Regions from separate parts of the Homo sapiens genome. Here all the other regions are linked to region 7. The links are contacts of gene promoters, found by promoter capture Hi-C in blood cells and fetal thymus (Javierre and others, 2016). All regions are on one chromosome and are shown on one strand. Each heading gives the region's core, a stretch centred on a gene start or on the middle of the fragment in contact. The rest is flanking DNA. Distances are from core to core; before and after follow the strand shown.

Region 1 (3,243 bases), core at 224-2,723, 1.7 Mb before region 7:
TTGAGTTAGGTGTTTTGTTTGTTTGGGTTTTTTTCAGACGGAGTCACGCTCAACCCAGGCTGGAGTGCAGTGGTGCAATCTCGGCTCACTGCAACCTCTGCCTCCCGGGTTCAAGCGATTCCCCTGCCTCAGCCTCCCAAGTAGCTGGGATTACAAGCACGCATCACCATGCCTGCTAATTTTTGTATTTTTAGTAGAGACGGGGTTTCACATGTTGTCCAGGTTGGTCTCGAACTCCTGACCTCAGGTAATCTGTCCGCCTCAGCCTCCCATAGTGCTGGGATCGCACCTGGCTATAGTACTCTCAATACAGTTGAGTTCTGAGAGTACTTTATATATTCTAGATACAAGTCTTTTGTCAAATATGTGGTGCCTTCATCCATTTTTGTTGCTATAAAGGAATAGCTGAGGCTGGGTAATTTATAAAGAAAAGGGTTTCATTTGGCTCACTATTCTGCAGGCTGTACTAGAAGCATGGCACCAACATCTGCTTCTGGTGAGGGCTTCAGCCTGCTTCTATGCATGGCAGAAAGTGAAGGGGAGACAGTGTGCAGAGATTACATGGCAAGAGAGGAAGCATGAGACAGGGGGAGTGTGCCAGGCTCTTTTCAACAACCAGCTCTTGGGGAAACTCCTTGGGAACTAGTAAAACCATAACTCATTCGTTACTGTGAGAATGGCACCATGCCATTCATGAGGAATCTGCCACCATGACCCAAACGCCTTCCATTAGGCCCCACCTCCAACATTCAGGATCAAGTTTCAACAGGAGGCTTGGAGGGTCAAATATACAAACTATACCATGTGGTTTGCAAATATTTCCTCTTGCATATTTATGAAAATTTTCTCCTGTTAGCTGGCCTTGAAGGCTGTACTGTCTACTCCCATAAGGTCTAATGATGATCCTGAGGTCAATAAGTTCTAAAAAAACAGTCTTTTTTTTTTTTTTTTTTTTTTTACCATCACTAGACTGGTGACCTAAGGAAAGGCAGGACCATTGCAGGTGAGTCCTATTTCTGTTAAAAGCTTATTATGGACTAAGTACTGGGTTGGACCTAAAGGATTAAAAGGCATCCTCTGTCTTCAGAGGGCTAGTTTAGGGAAGGAGACATTTAAATAAACCAAATACTAACGATAACAATCTGGCATGCTAAGTACCAAGACAGTTTTCCCAGGGTATACTTATCACAAGGGAGAGAATCTAAGATTAGGCAGCTTGGGAAGTCTTACTGGAGAATGCCTTTCAAGTACAGTTTAAGGAAACATTTTTTTCATAGTTCACAGCAGGTCCTTTTCCATATTACAACATATTTTCCAATTTGTCCAAATTTAGTTCTACTCTCCTTTCACCATAAATTAATAAAAAAGGCATACACGTGGATGAGGAGCACTTTGATGATTCTCTTTAGGGAGTTCCACATGGTGTTCACACGTTCATGTGTTTCTGTCTATGCATTTTGCAATACCTGCCAGTTAGCTCTAAAACAGTCCCAAGATGGATCTGAGCCCTTGCGGTATCTTGGCACCTTTTATGTAAAGTGAAAATATTGGAATGTCTATCTCACAGGATATGAGGATAAAATAAAATGATAAAATAAAAGCTCTTAAAAGGTGACTGACGCATAATAAATATTAGATATTTTTATTATCATGATGCAAAATCCATTCGTGTTATCTCCAAGTCCACCATCCACACATTATAAGAATAGGGCAAAAGTTATACAGTAACAAATACAGAGAAGGCAAAGGATATCTTACCTAATTTTCCTAACAAGAGGGTGTGAAGATGTCGTGACATCACCATGGATGCAGAATGGCCTTATCTTCACATGGGAAAGTCCCAGTTGTTAGAAAAGGTGCTGTTCATCATAAAAGTTTTAAGGGGAAATGAAAAGGTGGTGAGTGCAAACAAAAGCTTGGGGCAGAGTTGGGGCATCTACTTCAGTGGAACATAACTCATTGTTAGTTTTTTAGCATAGTTTATGGGTCTTTCCTGTATGATAAAAAAGTCCAGGCAAGAAGTGACTGGTGACCACATACAATAATGAATTTGAAAATATTAAAATTGTAATTTTTAAATTGTAATCTTGTCTCTGCAATATATGCTGAGTGTTACCACACAGTTATTATTTTACAGATGAGGAAAGTGAGGCTCAGAGAAGCTAAACCCCTTACTTACTCAAAATCACACAGACAGCAATAGTCAAGAGTGGAATCCCAACTAAGCTCTGGCAGACTGAATCCTAAACTTTCCGTACACCGAAGAGCCACACGTACTGCTGGCTTCCTTCCCTGACTTCATTATTTTGCCTAACATCAATAGCATGAACCATTTATTCATGATTGCCCTCGGTGAAGCCATTTTCTCATTCGTTTAGGGGAAGACATTGTTTTCTTTATTAATGAGAAGAGAAAACGGTTAACAAGAGTTTGTGTCCCTAATTGAAATGATTCTTAAGATGAAAAGATAGAAAAACATGAAACCCTGCTTAAAACAAAAGGCTAAAATCAGAATTTATGGAGATGGATCAATCCAACAGTAAAGAAATCAATTTTTCCTTCCTTGTCGTTACTTATATTCATCTATCCTTTATTTGGCATTAATACTGTCAGGCCTGACAAAAACAACAATTTACATATTAATAAAATCTAGAATTGTGCTGTGCAACGCAGTAGCCACTAGCCACATGTGGCTCTTGAGCCCTTGAAATGTGCCAATCCCGACTAAGATGTGCCATAAGTGTAAAATATACACTGGATTTCAACTAGTATCTAAAAAACAGAGAAAATATTTAATATTTTAAATCGCATGTTAAAAAACCATTTTGAACATAATGGATTAAATAAATTTAAATTAATTTCACCTGGTTTTTGTTTTGTTTTGTTTTGTTTTTTGAGACAGAGTTTGGCTCTTGTTGCCCAGGCTGGAGTGCAACGGTACGATCTCGGCTCACTGCAACCTCTGCCTCCTGCGTTCAAGCGATTCTCCTGCCTCAGCCTCCAGAATAGCTAGGATTACAGGCATGTGCCACCACGCCCGGCTAACTTTGTATTTTTAGTAGAGACGGGGTTTCTCCATGTTGGTCTGGCTGGTCTCGAACTCCCGACCTCAGGTGATCCGCCCCCCTCGGCCTCCCAAAGTGCTGGGATTACAGGCGTGAGCCACTGCGCCTGGCCACACCTGTTTCTTTTCACTCATTTAATGTGGCTTCTCCAAAATGTAAAATTACATAAGTGGCTTGC
Region 2 (3,179 bases), core at 648-3,147, 1.7 Mb before region 7:
CAGCTGCCAAATCTTGAATTCCAGCTACCAGAATTATGAGCCAAATAAACCTCTTTTTTAAAATAAATTACCCAGTCTCAGGTATTCTCTTTTAGTAACACAAAATGGACTAAGACACCTAGCCTCAGGGTTTCCATTGTTACTGAGTGTACATAGGATTGAAGGATCACAATATGACCTCCTATTCTTTCAGCAAGCCATCGTCACCTCTCATCGTTAACTGCTCCTCTCTGCTTTCAGTGTGGATTAAAGAAACTGGCACCATTTCTCTCTGCCAAATACTCTGATTACACCACCTCCCATTTCCTGTCTTCTTGATCCAAAAATTGACAAGAAGTGAAGAAACCAAAAATACCTTGTATATGTGCCAAAATGTTGCAAAAATTGAGAAACCCAGAATCTGCTGAATGGTATCTTGAAAGTTTTTTTTAAAAATTAATAATATATAGGCTACAGAGAACAAGTTATCCAAAATTCTTTTAAAAATTCAAATTAGTAAAGTCAAAAAACAGAAAAGACTAGAACTTTCAGAAAGTCAAAGTTCATTTTTTTCTAGCAATCTTAAACGTTAAGCTTTGAGGTTTCGTGAAATATTTATACACACCAAAAAGTCATCAGTGAGGTTAACATATAAAAATTTTTAAATAACTGTATTTTAAGACTATACATACCCTTTCCTTTAATCAATGCATATTATAAAGAAACATTAAAAGTTGTACCTACCTTAGCTGGAGGAACTTTTCCAGCAGCTGTGATCTGACCAGTAAAAAAACGTCCAAAATGATTTGCTGCTAGGACAACAGCCTTATAACTTTAAAAATAAATAAATAAATAAATAAATAATTCCATAAAAGGAGAGATCTCAGACTCACATATCATCATAAGTCATCAATGAAGTTTTGTCAAAGAATAATAGCTAATATTTATGTAGTATGTACTATGTGTCAAAAACAGTTCTAAGTGTTGTATATACACTTGCTCCTTTAATTTGCACAACAAGCCTATGGAAAGGTACAATTACTGTCTTCATCCCATAGGTGAGAAAACTGAGATACAGACTGAGAGACTTGCCTAAGGTCACTCAGCTAGTAAATGGTAGAGCCAGAAGTCTAACACAGGCAGTCTGCCTACAGAGGCACTCTCTTATCCATTATGCACCCACCCTCTTCATAACAAGTACTGTAGAACATAATAGAAAATGTAATGAAAGAAAGATAGGAAAATACTAACAATGGTTTTCTTTGGGTACTAGGACTATACATCCTTCACACTTACTTTACTATATAGTCCAAATATTGTTTGATGACTGGGTAGTGCTTAGGTAATGGGGGGAAAATCCTTAAAATAAAAAAAATTAGGTCAGCCATAGGCTTGTACAAAATAAGATTTCAACCTCGGAGAACAGAAGAAACACTTCCCTTGATCTCTAATGGTTCAAAGTATGGGATTTTCCGATATACTGACCTTAGTTCATGTCCTAGTTCTCTGACTGATTACCTTTGTGACCTTGGGCAAATTTTTAAAATTTTCTAAACCTTGGTTTCCTCATCTATAAAGTAAGGACAAAAAGCATCTATCTTTTAGGGTCGTGAGGACTAAATGAGATAACGCAGGTGAAACACTTCGCATAAAGCCTGTCACATAGAAAATGCTCAGTGAATATTAAGTGTTTTAGCCAAAGAAACAAACTATTTAATAAATCAAATAATATGCATCATCTTTTCTTTAACAGGATATTTTTAACATGCTACACTAATTTCATTTTCATAGCAATTTATATGTAAAAGGCACTTTTGCATTCTTACTTGGTAATATATACACTGGCTCAATATTATAAAGCAACTATTAAAACTCCCCTGCTAGGTGACAAGAAAATCTTCTCCCTGATCATATTTTTACATAATAATACTTGATACAATAATTGATGCAAAAACATATAAAGTCACCATTATTAAGTTAATCACACTGGAGCAAAAAACAATACTTTAGAGATTACAGTATCTGTTGCTCTCCTGAATTCAAATGACAGCAATTTTTAATGGGCAAATATGACAAAGATTCAAAGGCCACTGTAAGAAATTAATTGTGGAATTAATGCTCTAAAAGATTCAGTTGCTATTCTGAAAAATAAATAATAAAAGGAGATTACACAGGAAATGTACGAGGAAACATTGATAGTGAAAAAAGTAATAAATTGGACATTTTCTTCATGACAGCAAAAAAGTTCAGAATGAACAGTAATGAAGTGGAAGTAGCACATCTTCACTGTAATATGGCTGTGTGTATGAATGAGACGGATAATGATTTATCATACATTGTATGGATATGTATACTAGATGATTCCTTTCACACTATGCTCTCTGCATATATCAGCTCAGGACATAGAAGAGTGATTCCTCAAATTGTGATCCCTGGGTCCCTGAAGGTTTAAACTTCAGACAAATCTGGGGCCATAGTGGATGAGATGGAGAGTAGGAATGTTTCTGCACAATCCTGCCATACTCAGTGTACCCAAAGCTACTCAGCTCTTACTGGATTTATTTATATTGTCTCATAATATTTCATTTGCTCAAAAGATTCAACAGCTAAAACCACTTGATCTAGAGCGACTGGTTTTGATATTCTTTCACATATGTGTATTTCAGAATCAACAGCACCCTTAAAACTTTACATTATACATTTTCTAGATAAAATTTTAAGTCACACATTGCATAATATAACTCCCTTACAGGCTAAATAAATTTAAAAGTGTGCAGCTAAAACACAAAGTAGAATCTATGACATATTTCCTATGCTAAAATATAAAACCTAAGAAAACTTTCTGCTTAGGTGTCAGGCTATAGAAGGCTTTATTCATGTTAGTCATGTTAGTGTCTTTTTATGCACTGTTTTTTTAAAAAGGTTATTTTCTTTGTGCCTCATTAATATTAGCAAATTCTCAACTACTAATAGTTTTCATGATTAAAATCTAATTTAATTAGTTTCTTAGAGAAGTTGATTCATAAGCCTTATCCCATTTCCAGATTGTTCCCACCCTTTAAGGCAAAGTCAGCAGTACACTGCTTTCATGTAGCTATTCCTGTCCCTCACCCATGGCAGGCATGATTACTCAATCATAGCCACATTCCTCCAAGCAGAATGGGCCTTAGAATCCTTCTCAACATAGTACTCCAGGCAAT
Region 3 (3,479 bases), core at 324-2,823, 1.7 Mb before region 7:
GTATAAAATGATATAGTCAAACTGGAAAACAGTTTGATGGTTTCTTTAAAAAACCTGTAACTACCATATGGTTCTACCATTTATACTCCCAGGCATTTGTCACAGAGAAACAAAATGTATGTTCACACAAAAACCTGTACATAATTGTTCATAGTAGCTTTATTCATAAGAGCCAAAAACTGGAAACAGCCCATATGTCCTTCAACAGGTGAATGGTTAAACAGACTGTTATACATGCTTACCATGGAAGACTACTCAGCAATGAAAATGAATGAACTACTGAAATACTCAACAACTTGGATCACTCCCCAGAGAATTATGCTAAGAGGGAAAAGCCAGTCTTAAAAGATTACATACTTACTATTCCATTTACGTAACATTCTCTTTTATTTGTAGAAATGAAGGTCTCATTATGTTGTCCAGGCTGGTCTCAAATTCCTGGCCTCTGGTGGTCCTCCTGCCTCAGTCTCCCAAAGTGCTATAATCTATAATTATAGATTATATAGCTATATATACATTATACATTATATTTAATATATAATGTATATATATAAGTATATGTATTATTATATATATTTATAATGTGTATATATATAGTTGTTGTTGAGACCAAATCTCCCTATGTCACCCAGGCTGGAGTGTAGTGGTTCAATCTCGGCTTACACCAACCTCCACCTTCTGGGTTCAAGCAATTCTCCCACTTCAGGCTCCCAAGTAGCTGGGACTATAGACATCTGCCACCATGCCCAGCTAATTTTTGCATTTTTAATAGAGACAGGGTTTCACCATGTTGGCCAGAGTAGTCTTCAACTCCTGGCCTCAAGCAATCCGCCTGCCTCGGCCTCCCAAACTGCTGGGACTACAGGCATGAGCCACTGCACCTGGCCCACTATATAATATTCTTGAAAAAATGAAATTATCAAAATAGAGAACAGATTGGTAGTTGCCAGAGTTTGAGGAGGGGGTGAGGGTAAAAGAGATGTAGCTGTGGCTATAAAAGGCCAACCCGAGAAATCCTTGTGGTGATAGAAATATTCTGTATCTTGATTACATCAATGTCAATACCCTGGTTATGATATTGTACTATAGTTTTGCAAAATATTACCCTTAGGGGAAACTGGGTAGAGCCTACAGGGGGGGATCTCTCTGTATTATTTCATACAACTGCATGTGAATCTCCAATTATCTCAAAATAAAATGTTTAATTAAAAAAATAAGCCTGACAGGTGTAGTAAAATAGTAATGGTAGACTCTAGGTGGTAGATGCACAGGTAAGTACATAAAATTCTTTCAAATTTGCTGTTTTTTTAATGTTTCTTTGTAAAATTAGAAAAAAAAAGTTAAGTATTGTAATTATTCTGAGACTAAGTCCCTCACTCTCACAATCTAAAAAATAAAAGTAAGGTACATTCGGTACATTCAGCTTACTGAAAATATTCATTATTGCCTCTTTTCCTGTGGCATAAATTTTTCAAATGAATTGCCTGTAGATTAAGAAAGCAATTTCATGAAATCATTTCTTATCAGTGGAAGCAAACATTGAAGGTTCAGGATGCCATCCTGAATTTGGGATAAAGAGGTTTTTCATCTTCCTTACCCCACACCTCATCTTTAGTCAGTGTTTTCAACATTTATTTGGCATGTTAATTGTCAAATTCCCCTTTCAAGTGATCTTTTTATCTGATAGAGTGTCCAAGGTACTCTAAAGATTGCATTGCTGGCACACTCTACTGTTAGGTGACAGTTTAGGCACTACATCCCTCTGTAGTGGCTTTTGAGTAGACGACAAATTGTAGGAATTTATAGCATTAACTCAAAAATTTTAGAAAGCCTCAGGGAACAATTAATTTCAGGGTTTAAACTTGTCAGACCTGAAAAGTAACTATAAATTCATATTGATGATTACAGATTCTTTGTTTCTTAATCTCCACAATGGGCTCAAGAGTCCAAAAGCATAAATCATGCCACCTTAGGACAGTAAGAATAGTTACTTTCTGTGTAATATTTCAGTTTACACACCACCTTGACATGTATTACCTGATTTAATCACTTTAATAACTCGGAAGAAGGTTCTATTATTCCTGGGTTTTTTGTTGTTGTTGTTTTTTGAGATGGAGTCTCACTCTGTTGTTGCCCAGGCTGGAGTGCAGTGGTGCAACCTCCACCTCCCAGGTTCAAGCGATTCTCCTGCCTCAGCCCCCCGAATAGCTGGGACCACAGGCGCACGCCACCATGCCCAGCTAATTTTTGTATTTTTTAGTAGATATGAGGTTTCACCATATTGGCCAGGCTGGTCTCAAACTCCTGACTTCATGATCCGCCCACCTCGGCCTCCCAAAGTGCTGGGATTACAGGTGTGAGCCACCGTGCCCAGCCTGTTCCTGTTTTAAGGTGAAGAAACAATGGCTTAGGGTAAACTGATACATCTGAAGTCACAACAACAAGAATTAGAGCTGAGACTTAACTGTAGGTCTTTTGGTTCTGAGTTCAATGATTCTGGTGGGAAAGAGTATCCTCTGAGAGGGGATGCTAAAATGACTTCCCTGTGGGAATGAAGGTACCAAGAGAAGCAAGGAAAACAGAAGCCCCTTTATAGAGAGAAAGAGGGAGTCCTCTGTGAACATCAAGTCCCTCTCATTTTTCCCTCCCCATTCATTTTCCTGGATTATCCTACTAATCCTTAATTTTATTTGAGATGAGACCTTTACACAGAAGCCTTTCCAGACCATCCAAGGTTAAGTGCCCTTCCATAAGACTCAAGTTTTAACATTATTATAGTGTTTATCACTCTCTGTCTTAGTCTGTTTGGGCTGCTATACCAAAATGTTATAAACTGGGTCATCTATAAACAACAGAAATTTATTTCTCACAGTTCTTGAGGCTGGGAAGTCCAAGATCAAGGTAGCAGCAGACTTGTTGTCTGGTGAGGGACTGTGTCCTCAAAGACAGCTATTACCTCACATGGGGAAGAAGCAATGTATCTCTCTGGGTCTCTTTTTATAAGGATGCTAATCCCTTTCATGAGGACTCTGCCCTCATGACCTGATCACCTCCCAATACCCAAGGTATTGGGTATAGGTATTACCCCCTGATTCCATCACCTTGGGGGTTAGGATTTTAATATATTAATTTTGCAGGGACATAAACATTTGGTTCACTGCATTCCATATTATTTCCTATTTGTATAATTCCTGCACTGAAGTGCAAGCTGCTTGAAGATGGATATTTTATCTTATTCATTGGCATGTCATCAACACCTAACAGAGTGTCTGGCTTTCTTAGGCAGTCAGAATATACTTGTTAAAAGGAAGGAAAGCATTGTGAATATTCTGTAGGAGTTGAAATAGAAAAAAGATACTGGGTTTTGACCACATGCCAACAAAAAGAGCAGTTAATAGATTGAACGAGAGAAATAGGGAAACAAAATGTGCCAGTGGCAAAAGCCTGCTTGCTGACATTTATACATTAAACATTGATGT
Region 4 (3,343 bases), core at 411-2,910, 1.6 Mb before region 7:
ATTTCATTTGTATTCAAGTAACTTTTCAAAATGAAATGTGTTATAGACATACTGATTTGCTGTGGAGGTTGGATATGGTCAGCTGTGTTAACAATTAACTAATCCTCTAGCCAATTTGAAATAAGATTTGCAACCACAAATAACTGAAATTCTGTATATTTCTATAAAGTGGATAAAATTACGCAATGATTATCTTAAAATGGGGAAGAGTCTTCAGCTTTTTATGAATTTTTTTTCTTTTGGTTTATCTAATTTATTACAGTAAATCTTGTGATAGTCTTCACATTTTAGTGATTTCACTTGAGAATATTCACAAAATAATAGCTTTTTGTTACCTCTTGAATGTATTTTTCTGTTGGGTTTTATTGTGTTTCAGTCTAAGTGCTCATTCATTGCTATTAATGATTTGCCTCAAAAAAGATAGTTTCTTTAGCAAACATTTCTATTGATTCAGCCAATCATTTCAGATCATTCATTTTATTAAACTTGATACTTGTTTTAGATATGTAGTAAGTTACATATAATTACACATATGCATACAAGCATATGTGTATATGCATTAGCAGGTGTTTTTTGGTTTAAATTTTAGTAAGCAAATGCTCAGTCAGTCTTATTTTGTGTGAATATTTTTTGATAAAACTTAAACGCATTTTACTTTGAAAAACTAAAAGAATTAGAACATTTAAAATTGAACTTTAAATGAAATCCAAATATCGCCTTTATTTTGATTCTTAAATGTCACTTGTATTAATCACAAATATAAGTAAATCATTTTATTCTTGATGAATAATGGAAAAAATTTGGCTTTTCTATGACCAGTGAAAAATATTTTGAGAATTGCCCAGTAAATGCTTCACTTTAACATTTTTTCTTTATCCTTTTTTCCCAAATTGTCTTATTTTTACATTTGTTTATAATTTTATAATGTATTCAAGTTCATTTTTCAAGTATTTCTTTTAATGTATTCACTTTAGATATGTGACAACAGTAACATCATGGTGCAGGAGACTGACCCAGACTAGTCCCAGAGAGATGCCCACTCATTCGTCATCTTCTGTTCTCCAAGAAAATTGGTATTTTTCTTTTAAACTTAAATCTGTTTAGAAGAGCTAATACTTTAAAAAAAATTAAAATGTCAAATGGTAAACTGAGACTTTTTTCCCCAAAAAAACTTTCTTAGTTTTGAATATGTTTAACTCCTAAAGTATTTTTGATAGCTTAAGCTTGAAAATAATTTCTAATCAGACATCTAATTTATTACATTTCATCATATTCTATTTTACCTAAAGGTAAGAAAACCTTGCATTGAAAACTTAACATGAAAATGAGTGGCTCTTTTTATGTGACAAATTCATCCTGAAAACTTTATGGAAAAATTTAAAGGGGATTCTTAAATTTTTAGTAATGTTGAAGGAAATAAAAGGTTTAATAACATAAGCTTTCAGAAAACATTGATTTTTAAATAATTTCTGTCATATTAGTTACTTCTCCCAAATTAACTGGCAGATCAAATAAAGCAAGTATTTTAGTCCCTCCTGTGTGCTTTTCAGTGTGCAGGGTACTAGAACTGGGCTTCAAGGGAACTTTCTGTGAAAATATAAGACATTTTAGGGAGGAAATAAGGGCAGAAGTAAAAAGGATATTTTAGCCTGTGGAGATAGAAGATAGTTTTTATGGAACATATGCTATCTATTAGTATATAGTATGAGTTTTGAGGGCTAGGAATGGATCTTATAATAAATAGGAGTTCAGACCTGATGGAATTAGAAAGTCCTAAATGGAAAAATGATAGGAAGAAAGGTCATTAGAAGATTAGTGTCACTGAGAGTCTAACCTGAATATATGGGAAGACAGGGATACCAGGAACAATTTGGGAAGCTTTTTAAGTAAGTTTTGTGAGGTGACCTAACATAGTGTAGTGAAACAAAATGTAAACATTAAGCCAATTTTTGTTACCTTTTCCTAAGCCCTTTCTTAGAACAAATCAAATCATATCAGTAAGCGTTATTTGAATATCTCAGGTAGCTTAAGGATCCAGCTTTGCAGATCCCTCATCCTTTAGCTGTAGCCTGTTTGGAAGCAGAAAAGTTGCTAAAGTAACTAGCAAAAAACAATTGTGATGGAAGGAAAATTGTACTTGTCTATAAAACCATCACTTCACCATTGCTTAGCTGGCAGTTTGTAAAATATCATCAGCCTTTTTATTTGAAAGCTGAGAAGAGGCTGTCAATACACACTAAAAACTGCAAGTAGAGATTGGTGATAGTAGCTAAAGGTGAAAGCAACTAGGAACAGCAGAGGCAAGATAAAGAAATTGAGGAGTAGCTCCATTCCCCCTATAAAGCCTTAGGTATCTCCACTTCGGTTTTTCTTATCAAAGAGGGTAGGTTGAAGGAAGAAACAAGATTGTACAATAAAAAGCTACCTAAGTTGTATTCTAGTATTTTTTTTCCGCCACACCCTCCATTATTAGCTTATTAATTCAACTTTTTAGTCAACAAATAGTACGTTTCATAAAAAGTTCGTTCATTATGAGAGCAATAACAATAAAGGTTGTATTGTTTCTTACATCCAGAAAAATGCGTTGGGTTTAAAAAAAAAAAGATATTTTGCAATAATGAACAATCAGCTGGTTGTTGGGGTAAGTTGTATCCAAGTTCTTTGCCACAGGTGTTTAAAATTATGAAATATTTCTTTTCATTCTCCATCCATAGGCTGGAGTACAAGGGAAAGAGTACAAGCTGACAGGGAGGTGCATGTGATCTGTTGTAGTAAAGCCAATAAAGCAGACAAGTCACACAACCTACTACGAACTGTGAAGATTTTTCTGGTGACTTGAATATTTTAGACTAATGTCTTCATTAATTTTGCAGAGAGCTAGTCAAGTTACAGTTTGTAGTTGTATGCCATTGCTCATATTTCATTCTAACTTGATAAGAAAAAGGATAAAGAACACACACTTAGGGGTTCTGCTGGAGACGTATATATTAGCCCTCTACTCCATACCAGTTGTCCCACTATCTTTCTATAGAACATGGTATAAGAGCTAATGTTCATCATGTTAACCCTCTGTGCTTAAAAAAACAATGAAATAAGTAGGTAGTCTATTCCAGAAAGAATTTAATAAAAAATAGTTGTTTTGACACGTAATTCAACTATTTAAAAACTTGGATCTCCCATACCATCCATTCCCAAAGAGTTCCATATAAATGAGGTCTTAATATATGCACAAGTACAGAAAAGTAAAAAATCCTTTCTTCTGAGAGAAACAATCTAGGTAGGAAGAGCAGGAAGTTAAATAGTTCAAGAGAAGATATTACAAATAAGTATGTGATTAATTAAT
Region 5 (3,572 bases), core at 884-3,383, 1.6 Mb before region 7:
AGTTGAAAAACCTTACACTTATGAATCATCTTTGCTTTTACAGATACTTGGATGATATTGATGATGAGATGGACCCAGAGATAGAAGAAGCTTATGAAAAGTTTTGTTTGGAATCAGAGCGTAAGCGAAAACAGTAAAGTTAAATTTCAGCATATCAGTTTTATAAAGCAGTTTAGGTATGGTGATTTAGCAGAACACAAGAGAGCAAGAAAATGTCACATCTATACCAAATTAAGGATGTTGAGTTATGTTACTAATGTATGCAACTTTAATTTTGTTTAACACTATCTGCCAAAATAAACTTTATTCCCTATAACTTAAAATGTGTATATATATATAATAGTTTATTATGTACAGTTAATTCTACTGTTTTGGCTGCAATAAAATCGATTTTGAAATAAATGAAATGTTGAAAATTTTGCTAGTTGGTTAGATGCTTATCCTTTAAATTCTACTTTTCTTGAGGGGAAAAAGTCTTCTTCTGGAAATACATATTACTGCAAAAATGTAGCATCCTTTTTTAGGTAGGAGTATTATAGCTTTCATTTTAGTTTGACATTTAGTGTCCCAATGAATTGAATTTCAAATATGAATCATAATCTTGAAAATCTTTAGCACTAAAGTCTTGGAATATATCAACAACTGATTTACATATGCAGATGCTATTTGATACCAAGGGCTTTTTAAATGTCATGGGGGGGAAAAACCCAACTTGGTGAACTCCCAGCTAAACAACCAAGACTTCACTGAAGATTTATTCCAATTCTAGAATTGTTCTTTTTTATTTTTATTTTTTCAACTGACTAACTTCATTACCTTAAAGGCTAGAACATTATTCTGCTTTATTTATATGGCTTTCTCACTTTTATTTTGTAGCATGGGTTGCATCGACTTTTTTACTAGAGAATTTTACTAGATATTTGTCATTCAAGTTTTCATCTGCTTTATAATTGATACACCTTGAGGGTCACTTTTCTAATACTTTTACTATAATGTGGTACCACCTCAGCCCTAATAAATAATATTTTTACCTAATGTCAAATCTTTTTCCAGCTAACTAAAAACTGTGTACAAAAGGATTGCTTGTAAATATGCATGTAAATAGTTCTGTTAATAACCCACTGTTTTACATTTGGTACATCTGTGTCTGCTAATACAGTTAGCTTTCTCACTTTTCTGCTTGTTTGTTCAGTCTGAATTAAAATTAGACTTTGAAAATAAAGCTTAAATAGTTGTTTCCTCTAAATTTTTGAAGTAGCATCTGGTATTTTAAATAATTTGCTGTTGAACTTAAATGACATAATTAATTTACTTAATGGTTTGAAATCAAAGAAATCATATTAGAAGATATTTTATTCATTCTCTGAATAAGAATTCAGTAACAAGTCTACCTTGAAAAACTAGCAAATATAAAACATTAAAACTTTAAAATTCCTTCTATAAAGGAAATAATGTACGTAATTGTGGTTTTTGGAAGTTGTAGTAAGAAATGTTTTTCAAAATGGCTCCTGTAACATGGCAGCTATTAACATAATCTGCAGTTCTCTAAAGATAGCACTGACTATAAATATTGGAGGGAGAGGAGGTGTAGAGAAGAGATGGTACATTAGACCAGGGACAAGGAATGCTAACTGCATATACTTGAAACTTCTAGCAGCTGCTCTGTGAATAACTGTCCAGTATTTGTCTACTAGCTCATTGTCACCAACTACTGCTCTACTCACAGTAGCTACCGACAAGATCAATATCTGTTCCCGGTATTATGCTTAATAAAAAAAGCACAGAAATCTAGCATCTTAAAACAATCATTTTATTATGCTCATGGACTCTATAGTTCAGGAACTTGGAGAGGGCACAATGGGGATGGCTTTATTCTATGATGTCTGAGGCCTAGGCAAGGAAAACTAAGGGCTGAGGGTAATTTGAATATCTGAGAGCTATAATCATCTGAATTCATGGTACTGAGATGACTTTTAAAGCCAAGACTAGATTGGAATCGTTCACCAGAACCATCTACACTTGTCCATGTAGCTTGAACTTCTCACAGCATGTTGCCTGGATTCTGAAGGGCCATTTCAAAAGACCCAGAAAGCAGCTGCATTTGGAAGTTACACAGCATTAGTTCCATTATATTCTCTTGGTCCTAAGGGAGTTACTAAAGCCATATCACATAGGCCATCAAGGAGCATGTGGCCATATTTTAAAACTGATGGCTTGAGCCTGGTGGTCTTTGGTTGACCAGACTTTGCATAATTGACTACACCAGTACATAATGAAAGGAAGAGTTGCCCCCGTCCACAATTGTTGGCCTTTAGGATTGTCATGCCTTAAACAGAAACGTGTCAGCAAGTCTTGAGGAAAGATCATTTTCCAATGAGCAAGGACACAGAGCTGCTAGTAAATATAGTCTTGCGTTCTGGCAAAAAAAAAAAAAAAACCACAAATATTGGTCTTAACCTAGAAGTTGTCATCAACTCTGACCCTCTGTCTTTATGTTGTTAATGCTCTCCAGCCATAGACTACCAGGAACACACTGTACCTGAACATGTTGAGCTTACTGGGTTTTGTTTTTTTTTTTGTTTGTTTGTTTGTTTTTTGAGGCAGAGTATTGTTCTTGTTGCCCAGGCTGGAGTGCAGTGGCGTGATCTCAGCTCACCTCAACCTCTGCCTCCCGGGTTCAAGCAATTCTGCCTCAGCCTCCCAAGTAGCTGGGATTACAGGCACGCACCACCATGCCCGGCTAATTTTGTATTTTTAGTAGAGACGGGGTTTCGCCATGTTGGCCAGGTTGGCCTCAAGCTCCCAATCTCAGATGATCTGCCCACCTCGGCCTCCCAAAGTGCTGGGATTACAGGCGTGAGCCACCTCGCCCGGCCTGAGCTTATTGTTGCAGTAAAGGAGAACATACACCTTGTGGGAGTTGTGGGGTGCATCAGTAAGAGTGTGTTAGAATCTGTGGTAGGATTTGGGCTTTGGTGATTTAGGGGATGGTCTAAAACTTAACGTTCACTCTAGGCTGGGTCTTGCCAGAAAGCAAGCTTAATTCTATAATTAGGTATTTCATTAAATCTTTAGAGAGGACAGATGCATATGGATTAAGTTGTACTTTAGGGGGAAAAATCATTCACATTTAATGAGAGGAGGATGTTTGGTATGAAAGTAAACTCTAGGACTCAAAGTGGCTCAAACTGAAAAAAAAAGCTCCACCACTGTCAGGGGGACAGGCAAGGCAGCTGCAAAGTTAACATGAAACTGTTAGGTCCTGCAGCAGCTATAAAATACCATCATGACTCCCTCATGTGACCACTGCTTTGTTGGCTGTGACACCCTTAGACCTATTTTGCTATAACCCATCTACTACTGGGGATATCCAGTTGCTAAACTTGCCCTCACCTCATTGCAGCACCAATCTCTAGTTAATTCTCACATCTAATCTTGCTACAGAAATAGCATCCAACCCAGAACTGGTCTCCTTTCCCTTATAGCTTGCTCAGAACCCTACACTGGGAACCCAAACCTTACCAAAGATGGCACCCCCTGCCCTCTTGTGGAATGCACCATCTTTGCTGCTT
Region 6 (3,355 bases), core at 591-3,090, 1.6 Mb before region 7:
CAGAGGTCTCAAAATTAAGTAATTATGTGACCATTTTCAGTAACAGCGTATTTGTTAATGTATAGTAGAAATATGTAACTATGGGTATGACCTTTATTATTTTGCTTATATAGTATTGTGTTTGGACTTTTAGGAATAATAACTGTCATTTACTGAGGGTTTACTATGTCCAACAACTATGAACAATATTAGAAATATTTAATAACACCATACTGATCAAAATGGATGTCCATCCAATCAAAACAGGTATATTGGCTAGATGGCAGCCTCTTTTTTTTTTTTTTTTTTCTGAGACGGAGTCTCACACTGTCGCCAGGGCTGGAGTGCAGTGGCACGATCTCGGCTCACTGCAACCTCCACCTCCCAGGTTGACGCCATTCTCCTGCCTCAGCCTCCCGAGTAGCTGGGGCTACAGGCACCCGCCACCACACCCGGCTAATTTCTTGCATTTTTAGTAGAGACGGGGTTTCATCATGTTAGCCAGCATGGTCTCGATCTCCTGACCTCGTGATCCGCCCGCCTCAGCCTCCCAAAGTGCTGGGATTACAGGCGTGAGCCACCGCGCCCGGCCGGCAGCCTCTTTTTATAGGCAAGGAAATTATGTCTTAGAGAGTTTACCTAATTTGTCTATGGCAGTTTTCTCAGTGGCAAAGTCAGGATTTGAACCTAGTCTATCTGACTCTGTAAACTCTGTTTCTCAACTACTTTCTGCTACCTTTCTATGCTGTCAAGATGCTTGCCTGCCGGCTGAGTAATTTTATATTGTCTCGTGGCAAAGGAGCCATAAAAAATTATAAGTTGTAACTTAGCCTAGAATGGTAATTTTCCATTGTGTCTTTTGAGTCACTTTATTCACTGAAACTGCCTAGCTTGTTGCTGATGCTGCAGCAGGATTATTAGATAGTCTAATTCTAAAAGAGGAGTTTGATGACCATCCTTACAAACCAGCTTTGCTGTCAGTAAATACAGCCCTCAATTTTAGTGTCCTAACATCGTACATATAGATAGCATGGTAAATTTAGGAAGCTTTCTTGACAATAGTTTGTGTAAACGTAAGATTTTACATAAATGGAATTGAAATGCTAAATGCTTGGCAAAATTAATTCAGTAAAAACCTCTCACGCAATATCTACTGTTTATATCTTATATGAAAAGTCACAATCAACACTGTTACTTGTTATGAGTCTTTTATTAGTCAGAATCAATTTTTCTTTGAGTAATTAAACTTTTTTAAAGTTTCCTCTAAGCCTCCTGAAATTTATTTTAGTGTATGGTGTGCCAGGTACTACCTAGGATGGGTACTTTTTACATGTTACCTTATTTGGTTCATGTGATAACCCTGCAAGACAGAATTTCCCAAATGCTGTTCAGTAATTCTAGTACTAGTTTAAATAATTTTCTCTTTTCCCTCTTGCTCTGAAAAACTTATGTTATCTCATGTAAATTTTAAGATATGATTGAGTTTGTTTTTGAATTTTCTGAGTTGTTCTGTCAATAATTTTTATGGTAGTCCTGTACCATTTAAGCTATGGTTGCTTTTTTTTTTATTTAAAACTTAAAGAAAAATTTTTAGCTATGATTGCTTTTAATATAATGTATCATAGTGTTGGTCTTCCCTTATTTCTAGTTTTTTTTCAGAGTAAACTTTTGCAGGGTGAGGGGAGGGATACAAATCTGTTTAATTCATTGTACATTTAAAACCAAAATACATTTAACACTAAATATGACCATTTCTCTCATTTTGTGTCTGTTTTACATCTCTTTTTTTTAAGGGTGATAATCTTAACAATATCAAACATTCTCTGGAAAATCATATATAGGCTGAGATCTGGCCCTCCATTTTTTCATTCTCTGTAGATAGTAAAACACAAATATTTAAGAGCTTTCTTACACAATACTTAAATATCAAATATATGGAAAAATTGGACTGTTAACAGAAAATACTCACCGTCTCTTTTCCCCTCTCCTTGCAGCATATCTTCATTGACATAACAGAAGTGAGATGGCCCAGTCTTGATACAGATGGTACCATGATATATATGGAGAGTGGCATTGTGAAGATAACATCTTTAGATGGTCATGCATACCTCTGCCTGCCCAGATCTCAGCATGAATTTACAGTACATTTTTTGTGTAAAGTTAGCCAGAAGTCAGACTCATCTGCAGTGTTGTCAGAAACAAATAATAAAGCCCCAAAAGATAAACTAGTTGAAAAAACTGGCAAAATCTGTATACGTGGAAATTTACCAGGACAGAGACTGAAGAATAAAGAAAATGAGTTTCATTGCCAGATCATGAAATCCAAAGAAACTTTAAAGAAGATGAGTTGTGTAAATGGAACTGAAGGGAGGGAAGAGCTGCCTTCGCCTGGTACAAAGCACACATGTGTATACACATGGGTCAAGCAGTGCTGGTCTGTGGCTGCCTGTCCAGAGGAATGGAAATATCCTTTGTCTTTAGCACTTCATTTTCATAATAAAATCAGCAATATGTCTAAAATTGATGCACATATAACTCAGAGTAGATTTTTAACTTCTGATATTTCAGAGGAAAGAGGAAAAGTGGTTTCTGTTCTTCCCAGGGCCCTGTCACTCAGCTGTCCAGTCCCACACCTACACAGGTAATGCAGTAATGGCTATTGGTCATGAAGCTTTTTATCAGAACCAGTCTTAACCTGGATAATTTTCTTTTTATCTGATACCATTCACAAGGAAAGTTTATCTCATCCAAAATTTTGCTTTTAACTGATAGTAAATAATTTCCCTAGCAAATGTGTTGCTTATGTTTTTTACTCTGTGTCCATGCATTGAATGTAGAAGGCTGACTCTACACTAGATACTGTGCTAAGTCCAGTAACTGCAGAGATGACTAAGACACAGTCCCTGCTTTATAGCAACTTAGAATCTAGTGAAGGTCACTGTACCTAAAAAGATTATTAAAGTATGCTAAATGATGGGACAGGAGTCTGCACAGGGCTCTGTGGGCCCAGGGGAGCACCTGCTGCCGCTCACTGGAGCCCGTGACCTTGCTTGCTGGAGTGTGGATCTGACACAGTTCTTTTGTCCATACCTAGCTTCAGAGGCTACCCGTGTCTTTGGTTCACTGACTATAAATACGTCTGTTTTCAAAAGGGGTACACACGGAGTGGCTTCTGTAAGGCTAAGTATAAAACTTTTAACTCCACTAAGGATTGTAGATTTGTAACATCAACTTTGCATAAACAGTGCAAATCATAATGATAAAAACTAACACTTACAAAACACTTATGTGCCAGGTACTGTTGGACTTCACCCGTTTGATTCTCAAAGCATTCCCATGAAGTTAAAAAACGTATCATCCCTATATGTAGAGGAAC
Region 7 (3,518 bases), core at 217-2,716:
CATTCCAGATTAAAGAACTCTTCCAAGGGAAATGAGAATGGCTTTTTAGTTCAGTGATAAGTGAATAAAAAACATTCTTTGGTCTCTTTGGACTGGTTCAAGTGAATCTGGAATTAGAGGTAACATAGATAACTTTCAAGTTAATAGCTCCTACTACCCAAGAATTATTCATGTGAATCCACAGACCAAAATATAAGTCGGCTTCAGGGTGGTCTGTAGGTCTTTAAAGAACACACTCCTGGCCTGGCACAGTGGCTCACGCCTGTAATCCCAGCACTTTGGGAAGCCAAAGCGGGTGGAATGCTTGAGCCCAGGAGTTCAGGACCAACCTGGATGACATGGTGAACCCCGTTTCTACAAAATATGCCAAAGTTAGCCGGGCGAGATGGTGTGCGCCTGTTGTCCCACTACTAGAGGGGCTCCAGCCTGAGCAACAGAATGATACTCTGCCTCTAAAAACAAAACAAAACAAAACACTCCTGATAAATGATAATCTGGCAAAAAATATTCACTGAAACTAAGGCATTTCATCATAGACCCTATTTAATAACAAATTCACCAACTATTCAATCGCTTAAGAAAATGTTCCACCACTGTTTTCCTATGAGTCCGATGATATGAGTCAGTCCACAGAATTTTAAAAACTATCTGTAGTAATTGCTCAAACTCAAAAAGGAATAATGTAGAACCTAAAGGCAGCTGAGACGTAATGAAAAGAATTGGACTTAAATTCAGAAGGTTGAGGCAATTCCCTAGCCCAGTTTTTCCTAACAGCTTAGACCTTTCCAAAACAAGTATGCCAATACTTAACAGAGCCCTTGTGAGAACTGGCATGATGTATGGGGCAGAATAGTCTACACACCAATGTAAAGCTCTTCTATAGAATGTTGTTTTGAATCCAAAACGTAAAACGCAAATTACAACGCAGCAATGAAAAAGTGGAACTGTTATACATGTCTTTTTATCTTTACAGGATGCAAACCACCATAACTAATTTGAGTGTTATCATTCATCTTAGCCATTTATTTAAACTTCTGTATTTTATTTAGATTCTGCCCTTCTTCCAATCGCTACCGAGACAGTTTACACCAGCACGGATCTAGACAGATTTTCCATGGGTTCTGAATAATGCGGTTTTCGAAGACAACGCCTTGGCATTGTGAGTTCTGGGAAGTGGGCAATCGATGGCGCAGAGGGGCTCAGAAGCGACAGACCTCGGGTAACCACCTGCGGCCTGGGACCCAAAGGAACACAGGCCTCAGCCTCTAGCCCTCACAGCCATCGAGCGCCAGTACCTTAGCGCCGTCTGCCCCGCCCGCCTCCCTCTCCTCCGCTCCCTCACCATCTTCACCGGCAGCTTCGCTAAGTTGCTGTATGTGGGCCTGAGCCAGATCCCCGAGCTCTTCCACTCGTCTCACCACACTAGAGACTGCGGCCGCCATGGCCACAATCGGCGGGTGCGCCCCGGTCACGTGACCGTGTTGGCCCGCAATCACCTGATCCCCCGGCACGGGCGGGGCCTAGGGCGGACCTCTCCTGGTTGGTGGGAGGAGACATCAGCTCCGGAAGAGGGCTGGCCCAGGCCGGCAAAGGTCTTTCCGGGTCATTTTTCCCTCCTGGACTTCCCTTCCCTCCCATAATCCTGAGCAGCAAGGAGACTAGGGGCGGGTGTGACGTTGAGACACGCCTCTCTCTAGCCCCCTCCTGTAAGCCAATAGGGAGCCAGCCGTGCCCCTCGGCTGACCCAATCGGAAGTCAGCTCTCTCCGCCTGCCTCTTGGAAGACAGCTTGGTGACGTCTGGCTGGCAGGATGCGGATTGTCGTCCGCACTCCCACTTCCCTGTCCGGCGCGGGAAGCACAGTCTGGAGGGCGGACGCGAGGGTCTGGAGAGAGGACTGTCAGTTTTGGCCTTGTAGTAAGGAGGTTGCTAAAATAAAGTGATTATAATCTCCTGGTCCTAAATGGAAACCCGACCGGCCCCCTGTGTAACACATCCAAGTCTCCAAGAGTTTGTTGTACATCTGGATGGGGAGCTCCAAACACTAGTGGAGTTGCCAGTCTACATGGTTGAATATTGCTTTTGTAAATCTGATTTTTAGCAGTCGAATTTATCTCTGACCTCCCTTGGAGTTCACATTTAAAGTACTTTAGACATCTTGCGTCCAGTGGTAGTAAATTCTGCGGCCACAAAACTATTTTCATTTTTCTTTCATCTCAAGACCTTCCCTTAAGGCGCTAATTGTGCATGAGGTTCATCCTCTCAATCGGGAGTTTCAAAGCACTCAGTCAGCAAGTCTAACTTCACTTTGCATTCTGTGAATGCTTTCTTGCCTCTGGTCAAACAAATCGTTAACTCTGTGTATTCATTTCTCAGTTTGACACACTATATCTTGAATAATCTCCATCCTATTGTTTCTCATGGAAGGTAGTTTTTTATATGTAATAGAAAAATACTAAAAATAGAGAAAAAGTGTATTGTGATTTATAAGTGATTGACCACAATGACTCTCTAACTGACCTTTGTAATACCAGTTTCTTCTGACAATTCACCCTAAATATAGAGGACAGGAATCATGTATTTTGTGTCCTTGGTGCCTCATACAGTGCCTGGCACATATGCACTCTTGTCAACAAGCAAGATGGCAAGGGGATATGATGTGGTCTGTGGGAGTAGACAATTATTCAATAGTGTGGGAATTGTAGGTGAGGAAAAAAAGAATCTAAGTATAAACAAGAAGTTGAGAGAAGGCTTTCTCAACAAGGGATGGAGAAGGTGGTAGTTGAAGAGGGGCAAGTGCTGGAAGGTAGGGTGGAGAATGATCGTATCTGTACACAAAGGGGGAAAAATAGGGAAATAGGGATAAATTCAAAATGAAAGTAGGGAGCCAGCAATGGATAGAGAAAAGAGCAGAAGGTTACACCTGATGCCTTCTGAATCTTCTACAAGATGTAGAACTAAATGAAGCCTTCAGAAGATTTTACTAAACTTTTCAAAAAATAATTTTCAAAAAATAATTAACCTTTGATTAGGAATTTTCAGTCTCCTAGAAAATGTGTAATTTACCATTCTTAAACTACTTAAAAGAATTACCTGGACATGTGGGCAACAGACAAAGGCACAGCTGAAATATTTTGACTGTGGATCTACAAATTATCTCTGCAGAAGTGTTTTACTCTCAGGTCCACTGTTCTTCTCAGGCTTTTATAAAAGACATCTTAGGATCTATGTAATCAGGTCATCCATTTTCTAGCCATGAGATTTGGGTCTGGGAGATCTTGCTCATGATTTCGAAGTGATCTTGGATCGCCATTTGAATCAAGGGTTCCTTTTTAAAATAAACATTTAGAGTCAAATATTCAAAAGGCCCTTTTATTACAACCACAGCTTTATCTGTTCCCTCTCCATAAATGTGGCTATTGAAAACATTTTAGGCCAGGTATAATGGCTCATGCCTGTAATCCCAGCACTTTGGGAGATGTAGGCAGGCAGATCACCTGAGGTCAGGGGTTCAAAACC

Evidence for each region. The method cuts DNA at HindIII sites, captures the fragments that hold promoters and counts their contacts. A CHiCAGO score of 5 or more calls a contact.
Region 1: a contact is called between a fragment that was not itself captured here and the fragment with the promoter of RIMOC1 in region 7, in 7 of 17 cell types (non-activated CD4 T cells, total CD4 T cells, naive CD8 T cells and 4 more). The highest score is 11.1, in non-activated CD4 T cells.
Region 2: a contact is called between a fragment that was not itself captured here and the fragment with the promoter of RIMOC1 in region 7, in 1 of 17 cell types (naive CD8 T cells). The highest score is 5.4, in naive CD8 T cells.
Region 3: a contact is called between a fragment that was not itself captured here and the fragment with the promoter of RIMOC1 in region 7, in 2 of 17 cell types (total CD4 T cells and non-activated CD4 T cells). The highest score is 6.4, in total CD4 T cells.
Region 4: a fragment that was not itself captured here is called in contact with the fragment with the promoter of RIMOC1 in region 7 in 2 of 17 cell types (naive CD8 T cells and non-activated CD4 T cells); the score reaches 6.5 in naive CD8 T cells.
Region 5: a fragment that was not itself captured here is called in contact with the fragment with the promoter of RIMOC1 in region 7 in 1 of 17 cell types (neutrophils); the score reaches 5.2 in neutrophils.
Region 6: a fragment that was not itself captured here is called in contact with the fragment with the promoter of RIMOC1 in region 7 in 3 of 17 cell types (neutrophils, fetal thymus and naive CD8 T cells); the score reaches 6.5 in neutrophils.

Annotation. Positions count from the first base shown.
Region 1 is chr5:43,557,776-43,561,018 of GRCh38, reverse strand. No RefSeq gene overlaps it. Among named protein-coding and RNA genes, the nearest start is that of PAIP1, 2.3 kb to the right of the region's middle. The HindIII fragment of the contact is 889 bases long and covers 1,029-1,917 here.
Region 2 is chr5:43,616,664-43,619,842 of GRCh38, reverse strand. It overlaps NNT (nicotinamide nucleotide transhydrogenase), which reads right to left. Exons shown (of 22, transcript NM_182977.3): 5 at 724-811. Among named protein-coding and RNA genes, the nearest start is that of NNT-AS1, 15 kb to the right of the region's middle. The HindIII fragment of the contact is 2,643 bases long and covers 576-3,179 here.
Region 3 is chr5:43,592,721-43,596,199 of GRCh38, reverse strand. All of the region lies in intron 1 of NNT-AS1 (NNT antisense RNA 1), which reads left to right. Among named protein-coding and RNA genes, the nearest start is that of NNT, 8.7 kb to the left of the region's middle. The HindIII fragment of the contact is 6,357 bases long and covers 1-3,479 here.
Region 4 is chr5:43,488,361-43,491,703 of GRCh38, reverse strand. C5orf34 (chromosome 5 open reading frame 34) reads left to right here. Exons shown (of 13, transcript NM_198566.4): 11 at 975-1,073. The region is part of intron 2 of C5orf34-AS1 (C5orf34 antisense RNA 1); the gene reads right to left. Among named protein-coding and RNA genes, the nearest start is that of C5orf34-AS1, 6.1 kb to the right of the region's middle. RefSeq lists an enhancer at 2,722-2,891. The HindIII fragment of the contact is 440 bases long and covers 1,441-1,880 here.
Region 5 is chr5:43,523,941-43,527,512 of GRCh38, reverse strand. PAIP1 (poly(A) binding protein interacting protein 1) reads left to right here. Exons shown (of 11, transcript NM_006451.5): 11 at 44-1,246. The coding sequence ends at 137. Among named protein-coding and RNA genes, the nearest start is that of C5orf34, 11 kb to the right of the region's middle. The HindIII fragment of the contact is 1,815 bases long and covers 1,226-3,040 here.
Region 6 is chr5:43,505,013-43,508,367 of GRCh38, reverse strand. C5orf34 (chromosome 5 open reading frame 34) reads left to right here. Exons shown (of 13, transcript NM_198566.4): 4 at 1,974-2,620. C5orf34-AS1 (C5orf34 antisense RNA 1) reads right to left here. Exons shown (of 3, transcript XR_007058763.1): 3 at 1,171-2,160. Among named protein-coding and RNA genes, the nearest start is that of C5orf34, 8.5 kb to the left of the region's middle. The HindIII fragment of the contact is 1,624 bases long and covers 1,029-2,652 here.
Region 7 is chr5:41,902,292-41,905,809 of GRCh38, reverse strand. It overlaps RIMOC1 (RAB7A interacting MON1-CCZ1 complex subunit 1), which reads right to left and starts at 1,466. Exons shown (of 6, transcript NM_175921.6): 1 at 1,343-1,466. The coding sequence starts at 1,442. RefSeq lists enhancers at 1,364-1,483, 1,236-1,782, 1,894-2,033. The HindIII fragment of the contact is 10,560 bases long and covers 1-3,518 here.